Linked DNA regions of Homo sapiens: region 1 is linked to region 2. Evidence: promoter capture Hi-C in human tissues and cell types (Jung and others, 2019). All regions are on one chromosome and are shown on one strand. Each heading gives the region's core, a stretch centred on a gene start or on the middle of the fragment in contact. The rest is flanking DNA. Distances are from core to core; before and after follow the strand shown. Region 1 overlaps ATPAF1 (ATP synthase mitochondrial F1 complex assembly factor 1). Region 2 holds the start of ATPAF1 (ATP synthase mitochondrial F1 complex assembly factor 1).

Region 1 (6,348 bases), core at 1,848-4,347, 37 kb before region 2:
TCCATATGCAGCCTCTGCAATAAGAGCAAGCAAAATGACCACTGTCTTGGGCTGGGACATAACCACAATGTGTTTGCCAGAGCTGGATCTCACTGTGCAAGCGATGTTTGTAGGCTCAGGTGGTCTGAGTTTAGTGGTCACTCAAACGGAGTTTGTTCAGCATCCACAGAGTATCTTATCCCTCTGCCGGGTTTCGTGCTGGACACTTGGAATATAATGTCCAGTAAGATATGATCCCAGTCTCCAAGGGCTATTCATTCTGGTGGGGAAGCCAGCCTTGCAGGGGGGCCATGTGGAGGGGAATAGGTCTCAGGGAAGGCTTCTCATAGGGATACTACAGTGAAGCTTTGAATTAACTTAAGGAGGAATGGGCATTTGAAGCAGGCAAATGTATTAGAAAAGAGCAGAACAGAGGTAGGAAGAGCACAATGTGTTTAGGGAACTGCAAGTTATCCAGAATGGCTGGAGCCAAAGGAGTAGGTAGGAGAGGCACAAAATGAGCCTGGAAAAGACACCATGCACTGGATCCTGAAGCTCCTGTGAGCTGATCTAAAAGGACTTTGTCCAGAAAGCCCTAGGGAACCTGTAATGATTCTTAAGTGGTTTGAACCAATTTTTCTTGTAGATATTCCAGTTCCTAAAGCCTGAAGAGCGTAGAAGTAGCCCTGTTCAAGTGAATGTGAAGAATGAGCCTGCTCAGTGGACATTACAAATGATCCTATTAAGTGTGGAGCATGGACACACTTATTATTATTCCTGGGTTGGCTCCTGATGCAGACAGCAACCTTGAAGTCATCTCTTCCCTTTCTGTGCTCCTACTCTCCCTTTTAGCAGAACAAGGATAAAGATGTTGTTATCAACCTGTCACATCAGAAGAATTGACAAGACCAAAGTTCTCCGAAGGAAGTCTTCCCTAGTTAGAACATGATGTCTTGCAAAATTGTCTGGAGGAATCAGAGGTATATAATGCATGCATTTTGTTCTTTAGTTACCAGCAAGAAAATTGGGAGACATGTTTCTCAGGGCTGGTTCCAGAGCCAACCATGACTTACTTTTTTTTTTTTTTTTTTTTGAGACAGGGTCTCATTCTGTCACCCAGGCTGGAGTGCAGTGGCACAATCTGGGCTCACAGCAACCTCCACCTCCCAGGTTCAAGTGATTCTCGTACCTCAGCCTGAGTAGCTGGGATTACAGGTGTGTGCCACCACATCCAGCTAATTTTTGTATTTTTAGTAGAGAGGGGGTTTCGTTATGTTGAGCAGGCTGGTCTCTAACTCCTGGTCTCAAGCGATCGGCCCACCTTGGCCTCCCAAAGTGTTGGGATTACAGGCATGAGCCACTGTGCCTGGCTGGTTGCTCTCTTTTCTGAGCTGGAGTTGGGGCATGAGGGTACAAGGAGAGAGCAGCACATGTCACTGACCAGCAGGTTCCTGCCAACCTCATAGGGTTGGTAGGATTGAGATAATCCATGTAAGGGCTTAGCACAGTGCCTGGTATATGGTTAGCCCTTAGTAAATGTTAGTGGTTATTGTTAATGTGTATATAGTCAAGTGTTGCTTAACAATGGAGACTACATTGAGAAATGTATCATTAGGTGATTTGGTTGTTGTGCAAACATCATAGGATGTATTTATACAAACCTAGATGGCATATAGCCTATTGCTCCTAGGCTGCAAACCTGTACAGCATGTTACTGTGCTGAATACTGTGGACACTGTAATATAAGGGTAAATACTTATCTATCGTATCTAAACATAGAAAAGGTACAGTAAAAATACAGTATAAGATAAAAAATGATATTGCTGTATAGGACACTTACAATGAATGGAGCCTGCAGGACTGGAAGTTGTTCTGGATGAGTCAGTGAGTGAGTTCTGAGTGAATATGAAGACTGAGGAGGACATTACTGTACACTACAGTAGGCTTTATAAACACTGTACACTAAATTTATAAAAATATTTTTCTTTTTTCAATAACCTTAGCTTACTATAACTTTTTAACTTTATAAACTTTTTAATTTTTAAAACTTTTGACTATTTTATAATTGCACTTAGCTTAAAACACACTGTATAGCTGTATAAAATATTTTCTATCTTTATTCTGTAAGCTTTTTTCTTTAAAAAATTTTATTTTTTACTTTTTAAATGTTTTGGTTAAAAGCTAAGACACAAACATGTACATTAGCCTAGGCCTACACAGGGTCAGGATCATCAACATTACTGACTTCCACCTGCACATCTTGTCCCACTGGAAGGTCTTCAGGGGCAATAACACACATGGAGCTGTCCTCTCCTATAAGAACAATGCCCTCTTCTGGAACAACTCCTGAGAGACCTGCCTGAGGCTGTTTTACAATTGACTTAGTATTTTTTATACGTAGAAGGAGCACACTCTAAATAATACAGTAAATACATAAACCAGTAATAGTCATTTACTATCAAGCATTATGTACTGTACATAGTTTTATGCACTATACCTTTTTATTTTTTGAGATAGGGTCTTGCTCTGTGGCCCAGGCCGGAGTGCAGCAGTGTGATCCCAGCTCACTGTAGCCTCAACCTCCCGGGCTCAAGTGATCCTCCCACCTTAGCCTCCTGAGTAGCTGGGACTACAGGCGTGCACCACCACGCTCAGTTAATTTTTAAATTTTTTTTGTAGAGACAAGGTCTCGCTATGCTGTCCAGGCTGGTTTTGAACTTCTAAACTCAAGGGATCCACCTGCCTCGGCCTTCCAAAGTGCTGGGATTACAGGCGTGAGCCACCGTACCCGGCCCCTGTACACTATACTTTTATACCCTATACCCCTATACACTATGCTGGTGTAGTAGATTTACACCAGCATCACCACAAACACATAATGCATTGTGCTATAACATTACCACAGCTATGATGTCACTAGGCAATAGGAATTTTTCAGCTCCATTATAATCTTATGGGACCACAGTTGCATATGCAATCTAACGTGACCAAAACATTGTTATGTAGTACGTGACTGTAGCTTGGGAGGCCAGCACTGAACCCACAGTACCTCTTGTCTATTGCAAGAAACATATAGCCTTTGAGACTTTAACACTGTCTACCTGTTATTCCCCATTAAGCCATAAGTGCTTCATGGGTGGGTACCAGAGCCTGGCAAGCTTTGCATCCTCCATAGCATGCGGGGGGAGTTCCTTAACTCTCTTTGCCCCTTCTGAGACGGCATTGATCAGTTTGTCTTGTATTGTAATCATTCATGTCAGGTCATGCCGCTGAACTGTAGGCTCCTAAAGGGTAGATACTGAATCTTTATATTTGTCCAGAAACAAGCATTCCTAGCTTGGCTCTGCTCCGGGGCGTTAACACTTGCTGTTCTCTTTACCTGGTTCTCTTTCCCCAGCTCATGTATCAGCTGCCACTGCTGCAGAGATGCCTCTCCTGACCATTAAGTTATTGCCTCCACTCCATAGTCTAAAATATTATTTTTAAATTTTCATAGCACTACCAGTATGTAAAATAATTTTATTGATTTACTTGTCTTCTTTACAAGAATATAAACTACATGAGAACAGGAGCCTTATTTGCCATGTTCATTGCTATATTATCCAGTTTTTTATAACAGTGCTTGGCAAAAAGGTGCTCAATAAGTGTGAATGAATGCTGACTCAATGCCAAATCAAATGACTAGGAAGTGGGCATTAGTACCTCTTCTCCAAGACTGAACAAAAGGTCAGTATGGAGAGTGCAAAGCAAAACATGTGGCTCCAGCTTCCAAACTGGTTGGAGAAGAAAGAAGTACCAGTATGAACATCCAAGAACTAGACAAAGCAAACTATAATCAGGTGTAGGTGTGAGGCACTGAATCAGAGGCAAGAGAGAAACAGGCAGTGGCTAAAACAGAGCCTGCGAGCAGGAATCATACTCTACTCATCTTTCTGTGTCCAGCACTTAACATAGTGGCTGCAGAATAGATGCTCTGTGAGCAGCTGTTAAGTTGTACTGTGTAATGGTCCACCAAGGTAATGCCAGTGGATTAGGTGAGGTACAGAGAACTGTGTATAACTTGGTATCTTGGTTTGCAAATATTTCTACTCAACAAATTCTCGATCTATGTGTATTAAGAGATTCTTTTAAATCTAGAGTATTTACATGCAGGTACATACACAAGACAATGTTTTGGTTGAAATCCATATTACCTATTTATTCAACAAAAAACTGAGTATCTTCTATGGTCCAGGCCATGTCCTTGGCACTGCGAACAGAGATAAGTCCTGGCCCTCAAGGAGCTCACAGTCTAGTGGGGGAAAAAAGACACAAGAATAAATAAATATAATGTATTTGGAGTTTGCAAAGGGGGCCACTATGGGAGACAAAGAACAGAGGAACCTAAATATCCTATAGTTAGCATCCACAGGAAAGAAAGACCTGGCAATGTACATTTTTGTAAAGAATAGATAAGGCAGTGGTTCTCAAAGTGTGGCTGGCTAATTACCTACATCAGAATCATTTGGAGCACATATTAACAAGTAGATTCCCAGTACCTTCTGCACATATTCTTGATTTAGTACGTGTGTGGGGGGGTGGTGTACGGTTGAGGCCTGAGAATCTGCATTTTAAAAGCACTTTAGGTGATGCTACTGCATCTTAAAGTTTCAGAACTGATGAGATAAAGTTTGTTCTTTTAACTGGAATAAAGAATGATCTACACATCTGAAATGCTAACTTGTATTAGTCTTTAATGAGGGGCAAGGGAAGTAGAGAAAAGGATGGTAGTTGATATTTTCTACTATAGTGAAGTTAATTTAATTCTCACAATAATCCTATGAGGTAGATATTATTATCCCTATTTTAGATGGAAAAAAAACCCCAAAATTAGATAGTTTAAGCAATTTGTTCAACAGTATAGAGCTAATGAATAGCAACACTAACATATGAACCCAGATTCACTTAACTCTAAAGCCTGTCCACTTTCTATAACACCATGCTAGCACCAGGGGACAAATTTACTGATTAAATGGTACAATTTTCTTTGAGTTCTTTGCCAGATCTTTCTAGGTAAATAAATATAAAGAACAGCTACGTGGTACTTTAGTCATGCCCCACACATTTATCCATGGACACATCCTACTTGGCAGTTGGGGACTGAGGACAAATCCAGGAGGAATGATTAAAACGAATGGCCACTTCTTACTCCTTTTTCCATCATTTCCTCACCCGCTGGTGGAGGTGTATCAATGTACTATGTATGGCTAATAACTGGGCCCATCTGGAAAGACAAGCAAACATAACTGGATACCAATAAAAACAACCCCATCTGATGTCAAAAATTCTTGGGACCCAAAACATTCAGAAGGTCAGAAGGCATTTAATGAAAATGGCAGGGCAGATAAGACTCAAGTTTCTCAAAAGATAAACTGCCAGGACCAGAAGCAGGTCCAGAATTTACATTAGTTAACAGCTCAACCTTTAGAGAAATAGTGAAAGGATAGCAGCTTCCCCAGTTTAAAAAAATACTATCTGTCTCTCTCAATACATAGACTCAAAGGTGCAACAAAATAGACACGGCTCAGAGAATAGTGGGATGTCCACCCTATTTAAAGAGCTTAGGGACAGGCCCAACCTATAAAAATTCTTCTGGAAGGAAGAAAACACACACACACAAACTGCGAATACTGCTTAAATTCCCACTCACCACATTCAGTGTCATATAACCAGATCTTAGGCAGGAGCAGCAGAGTGGAGCATGTTAGATCAATAAAGAAATGTCAGGCCAGGCACGGTGGCTCACACCTGTAATCCCAGCACTTTGGGAGGCCAAGGTGGTGGATCACTTGAGGCCAGGAGTTCGAGACCAGCCAGCCTGGCCAACAAAGTGAAACCCTGTCTCTACAACAATACAAAAATAAGCCAGGTATGGTGGCATGCGCCTGTAATCCTAGCTCCTCAGGAGGCTGACGCAGCAGAATCACTTGAACCAGGGAGGTAGAGGTTGCAGCGAGCTGAGATCACGCTACTGTACTCCAGCCTGGGCAAGACAGAGCAAGACTTCATCTCAGGAAAAAAAGAAAGAGAAAGAAATGCCATGGTAAAGGCAGCTGACAACAATACTGGGGGCCTTGGGTTCAGAAGGCTGGTGTGTAACCACCGTCCTTTCCTATCACTGAGCTTGGAGCCACAACAGTGACACTACAAACGAAAGATGGGTTTCCAGCTCTGGAGAACAACTTTCTTATTTCTGGCATTCCAAACAATTTTTCAGTCCCAAGATGAGTTTTGATAAAATCAGCCCATAGCCCTGACACAATGGACAGTACATAACTCAGATTTCATTATTTTGTATAACAAACATTGTAAGCCAGACTTAAAAAAAAA
Region 2 (5,651 bases), core at 1,970-4,469:
TTCAGTTCACCCAGCTGACCCATCAATAAACCAACTTTAAGGATAAGGGTGAGGGTAAGGAGGGTGAAGGAGTGCTGGTAAGCAAACACCACAAATGGGGGAAGGTCTTACCTTCTGTTCCACACATTTGATAAAATCACCTTGCCTGGAATGCCCCACTGGCTGCTTCCGAAATTCACTGCGTTTCTCCAGGCGGGACTCAAAAGCAGCTGGGTCTGACCTGATCAGAGGTAAACCAAAGGGTAAACCAACTGGGCCTTTTTGAATTCTAAAATAACAAAGCATCACTTTCCACCTCTACAGAGAAAGGACACTGCCATTCAGAGAGGTTGAAAAATTTGCCTTCAGTTAGTAAGAACTGGGCACAGGCCTAGAAATAAAGAAACTGGAAAAAGAAATCCTGTTATTCAACTGTTGTTAATCCTCAAGGGGCCTGTGTAACATTTTTCTTTTGCAGGCTGTTCCCTAGGTTTACACAGGGCTTAGTCTCTCAGGTACTTACATTCAGGGTACTTAGAATTTTGAGGTCATCTTGCTGGATCACCTCTTCAGACAAGAATCCTATAGCCTCCTTACTAGGTGTCAAGCTTTTACTTGAATACATCCAGTTCTTGAAAATATGTCCCCCCAACCAGGTTAAACATCTGCTTTATTCAGATCCTGGTGATTCAGAGGCTTTAGGTAGCCTATTTTGCAGAAGATTTAGCATCTGAGTATCTCCCTAACCTACCCTCCAAAGAAGCTGCTCTTGGAGATGAAACAACAGAACACATTGTTTATGTCAAAATGGGGTTGGTCTTCAGGTTTGAAGTCCAGGCTGGGGTGCTGTCCCTATTAAGAATTCTTCAGACTGTGTAGCTAACCATGGGATATTTGGTTTTGTACACTTTGGTGAAGATATCATCCAGGGATTCCAGCTCTTTGGCCATGAGACCCAGAGTTTCATGGGTGAGGTCTGGAGGACCCAGGGACATCTTGGCTATCCCTCTGGTGGACTTTCCTGGTCAATGCATTATAGGGGGCCCCTTCTTCCATAAAATTCCTTTCTGGAGGTGACATAAAACACCACTCCCTTCACTGTCATGTAGATGGGATGTTTTTCTTCTCTCTGTAGTGGGCCGGCTCCTCCTCAATAAAGAGCCTCACCAGGGGTTTCTGCTTAGTCGGGCATGGCACCTGCCTGGCCAGAGCTGCAAGCAGCCCTGGGGGCTGTACCAGGACCAGGGTCAACCCTGCTAGTGGCTACAGCTGCAACTGGGCCTGCCATAGTGAAGGGGTAGAGAGGGCAAGGGACAGCCTGGGCAGTGAAGCTGTTGCTGGGATCTGAGGATATAGAAATAAATAAGTCAGACTCCCTACCTCAAGGAGCTCACTATCCAGTGGGAGAGACAGGCATAAAAGTAAACAAATGAAAGTACAACAGGTATTATGATGAAAATTTGCTCAAACATCCCCAAATGGTTAAGGTGGTTTCATGCCTCTGTACCTTTGTTTATGTTGCTGCTCCCCTTACCTGGAACATCCCCTCCTCTCCATTCTTTTTCAAAGGAAGTTTGCTAACAGATAAAACTAGAGAGAGACTGGCAGGGACTAGGGTATGAGGAACTTGTGTGAAACATTAAGGAGTTTGGATGTTATTTAGAGGTCAGTGGGGGGATAACAGTATGTGTAAATGTTGATGGGAATGATCCAGTGGGGAAGGACGGTAAAACCAGTTATTTATTTGTTCATGAGTGGGTAAGAATAAATGGATGCTGATAAAGTATTCAAAGTACAAGTAGACAACTCTTCAGAGATGCTTGTGTGTAAAACAGATCAAATACAGATCAACGAGAGAAGCCTGGAGGGGAATGTACATCAAAGAAAGGCTTTTAAGATGACAAATACTTGAGACTATCTCAATGCTGCTGGAAGGAGAGCAAAAATACTCATTCATTTACTGCATAACTGTTTCAAATGGCAAGAAAGATCACTACAGTAGCAGTGAGAGGAACTGGGGTAAAGTAGTCCAGGAATGGAAGTAGGGAACTCTAGTTAGAGGATAATGGCAACAGCCCAGGTGACGATGATGGAGTAGATTAAGGCAGTGGAAGTAGAGATGAGACAGAACTCAAATTTACAGTACTAAGTCTTTGGTTTCCTTTCATAAGACAACTACCTTCTTACCCTGCTAAATTCTCTCCCAAGCCCCTTTAATTTTCACCTCTGATCTCCTTTAGCTCTTCCCACTTGAACTCTTCAGATGCTCCTATAGCCCCTCATATGCACCTTAAGCCCCTCTAAGCTCCAGATCCTTCCCTCTGGAAGCTAAGAGGTGGTGTTAGGGACCCTGGACTCAGAGTCAGACAAATCCCAAACAGCTGTGTGACCTTTGGCAAGTCTCTTACTCTCGCTGATCCTCAGTCTCCTTAAGAGGGTTCAATGGGTGATCCGACTGTGACACTATTAGTCTTTGATGCCCTCCTCCCATCCCCAGTCGCCTTTCCTTGCAGTCAAGGCCCTAAGCTACCACCAGCCTGGGAACTCCAGCTCTGAGCCAGGCCTCAGCTATCTTAATATGTGACCTTGAGCAAGTCAAGTCCCTTCTCTAGAAGGCGTTTTCCCATTTCTATAATGAGGACAGGTGTCTCTGAGCTGCCTGCCTCAGGGCTGTCATAAGAGTCCACCTTAGCGTTTGGAGAACCAAAGCAGACAAACGTGGAACGAGCCAGGGCTTTGCAGAGACTCCCAGCTCTGACACCAATTAGCTGTGTGATCTTGGGCAAGTGACCTAGCCTCGCGGAGCCTGGCTACATCATCTGAAGAGCTGGGACAGTACTAGTGCCCACCTCACAGGGCTGTCCTAAGGCCCAGCAGCCCGGGCCGCCCCTCCTCCCGCCTCCTGCCCGCCTCCAGCCAACCCAGGCCCGCACCTGCGCAGCAGCTGGATCTTGTCGCGGTAGCGGTCGTAGAAAGGGTTGGCCTGGAGCTCGGCCTCGGCCCCGACCCCGCTGCTGTCGGCGCCCCCCTCGGGCCGGCCCGAGCCGGGGCGCACTGGGAAGACGCGCAGCTGCGCGGGTGACACGAGCCCCAGGCCCAGGGCGCGGCTGCGCACCGCGCACAGGCCCCGGTAGAGACCGGCCACCTGCAGGACCGCCGGTCCCGCGCCACCCGCAGCCGCCACCACCACAGCAGCCATGGCCGCCCCCGCCTCCTCCTCCTCCTCAGGCGCGTCGGCCTCGGCCCGCGGCCCGCGCGCCCGCTCCATCCCGCTCCGAGTGCGCCGCGCCCGCGCTCCGGCACCGAGGTTCCGCGCGCCCAAGGTTCCGGGCGCGGGATAGCGGCGAGGCGGGGCGGGGAGGAGGGGGCGCGCCGCTCTGGCCCCGGCACTGCGCGCTCTCGCCGCCCTGTGTATGCCACGGCCCGCCTCCTCCAGGGAGGCTGCCCAAATTCAACGCCCTTCCTCCCTCTGGGACCAGCAGCCTCTGCGCGCCAAGTCCGTTCTCTAAAGCCAGCGGATCTCCATGTCCTCGCGGTGCTTGCCCCTGGCACTCGCTGTAGTGCCAGGCACTCGATGTAGTAGTCCGTCCTTCAGCATCGAAGGTCTTTTCATCAACTATAATCACAGCAGCAAGCTTCTCTTTACTGAGGTTGCTATGTGCAGGACACTGAGCGGCTTCATACTCTGTGTGGCAGTATTATCCTCATCTAACAAATAAGGAAACTGAGGCCGAGAGTAATTATGTGACTTGTTCAAGTTCTACCCGACAGCTGAGCTCTTTTCAAGATGGCAGCTGCCTCCCAAGCCTCCTTTTCCTCTGCTTCCTGACATCCTCCTTGAACTCCAGCCACAGTGACCTATTCTCTCCCAAAGAAACACCAGGATTACTCCTTGAAGAGTCCTTATTCAGGCCCTTTTTGACCCCTGGAATCCTCTCTCCTTCCATTCTCTCAACCCAAATGCCACAATCTTCCTTACCGTCTGAACCAGGTGTGAGCTCCTAGGGTCAGGGACAGTGACATTAACATCTCTGTGTCCCACCTGCTCACAGAACAGGGCCAGTCCTGGAGTGGGCTCTCTGGGACAGTACTCATCATCAGGTCCTTCTTGTCTGGGTTTTGTCTGATTGAAGCCCCTCCTGGGACAGGGGCAGAGCCTTCAACTCTGCTCAATCCAACCTATGCTCATGGAGATCAGCCCTGAGCCCTGCCCTGTGCGAGGAACAGTGTAATGGAAGATGAATAAGTCCTTCAAGTATGCCAGCCCATACCTGGCTCACACTCCTAACACTTGCTGTTTTCTCTGTGGATCTGCATGTGGCTGCCTCCTCATCATCTAAGGGCTCAGTTCACATGTAAGCACCTCCAAGGGACCTAAATGACAACCCCTCCATCTCTTTATAGTCTTTATCCCATCACTCTATTGCATTCTCTTTATAGCAGTTATCATTATCTGAAGTTCTTAGATCCTTGTTTATATTAATTCATTGAGCTTACATTCTAGTGGAGTGAAACAGACAGTAAATATATAATGTTAGGTGATGCTACATGGTATGCAGAAAAACAGCAGGCCAAGAGAGATAGAGATAAGGGGACACTTGAGCAGAGACCTGAAGGTAATGTGGGAATGCTGGGGGAAGAGCCTTCCAGGTAGGGGAAACAGCAAGTGCAAAGGCCCTGATGAGGAGGTTATTGAGTCTGAATGAGTGAGGGCACAGCAGCAGAAATGAGACCAAGAAGGTATAGGGAGGGCTAGTTAGATTGCTTAGGCCTTGGTTAAGGACTTTGATTTTAAATCGAATGAGATCGGAAGTTACTATATGTTTTAAGCAGTGGAGTAACATGATCTACTTTTTAAAAGGATCATGCTGGCTGCTGGTGGGATTTAGGATATGTGGAGGCAAGGATGGAAACTCTCCCAAGGGTGACTAATTTATTCCAGTTTGCCTAGGACTTTCTTGGCTCTAGCATTGAAAGCCCCATGTCCTGAGAACCCACCCCAAGTCCTGGGCAAACCAGGATGTTGGTCACCCTACAGGGAACAGTAATCCAAGTGAGAGATGGTGGTACTTGGACTAAAGTGATAGTGATAAAAAAAAGTGGCCAGATTTTGGTTATATTTTGAAATAAAAGCCTAAAGATCTTGCTGATGGAGTCAGTGTGGGTGTGATAGAATGAAAGGAGTCAAGGATGACTTGCAGGTTTTTGGCCTGAACAACCCGAAGGACAGAGATACTACTTATGAAGAGGAGGAAGGCTGTAGGTAGGGTAGACTTTGGAGGATGGATAATCAGAGTTTGGTTTTGGACATGTTGGTTTGGGATAATTTAACAGACTGGCAAGGAGGGATGTCAACCAGGTATTTGGGTATGAGTCTAAAGTTCTGAGGAGCATTCCAGGCTGGAGAGATACAGTTGCGTACTGTCAGTGTATAGTGATATTTAAAGCCAGGGGTCTGGGTGAGATAACTGATGGAATGAATGTAGATAGAGCACTAAGAACTGAGCCCTAGACATGCCTACATTTAGAGATCAGGGGAAAAGGGAGAAACCAGCAAAGGAGACTGGAAAGTAGGGGCCAGTGATATACGAGGAGAACAAGGGTAAGTGGACCCTGGAGAGAATTCTGTGCTAAATAGTTCCCTAAGTCACACATTGGAGGACTATAAAGAG

What was found. Contacts are between HindIII fragments. The study calls those that stand out against the background at their distance.
Region 1: a contact is called between a fragment that was not itself captured here and the fragment with the promoter of ATPAF1 in region 2, in 1 of the 25 tissues and cell types used here (neural progenitor cells).

Annotation. Positions count from the first base shown.
Region 1 is chr1:46,628,587-46,634,934 of GRCh38, forward strand. ATPAF1 (ATP synthase mitochondrial F1 complex assembly factor 1) reads right to left here. Exons shown (of 9, transcript NM_001394565.1): 9 at 4,151-6,348. Among named protein-coding and RNA genes, the nearest start is that of MOB3C, 15 kb to the left of the region's middle. The HindIII fragment of the contact is 3,743 bases long and covers 1,227-4,969 here.
Region 2 is chr1:46,665,145-46,670,795 of GRCh38, forward strand. It overlaps ATPAF1 (ATP synthase mitochondrial F1 complex assembly factor 1), which reads right to left and starts at 3,220. Exons shown (of 9, transcript NM_001394565.1): 1 at 2,913-3,220; 2 at 112-220. The coding sequence starts at 3,178. It also overlaps the pseudogene NENFP1 and a transcript of TEX38 not described here. RefSeq lists enhancers at 666-1,195, 1,196-1,724, 3,520-3,669 and silencers at 2,790-3,409, 2,837-3,007. The HindIII fragment of the contact is 2,569 bases long and covers 2,101-4,669 here.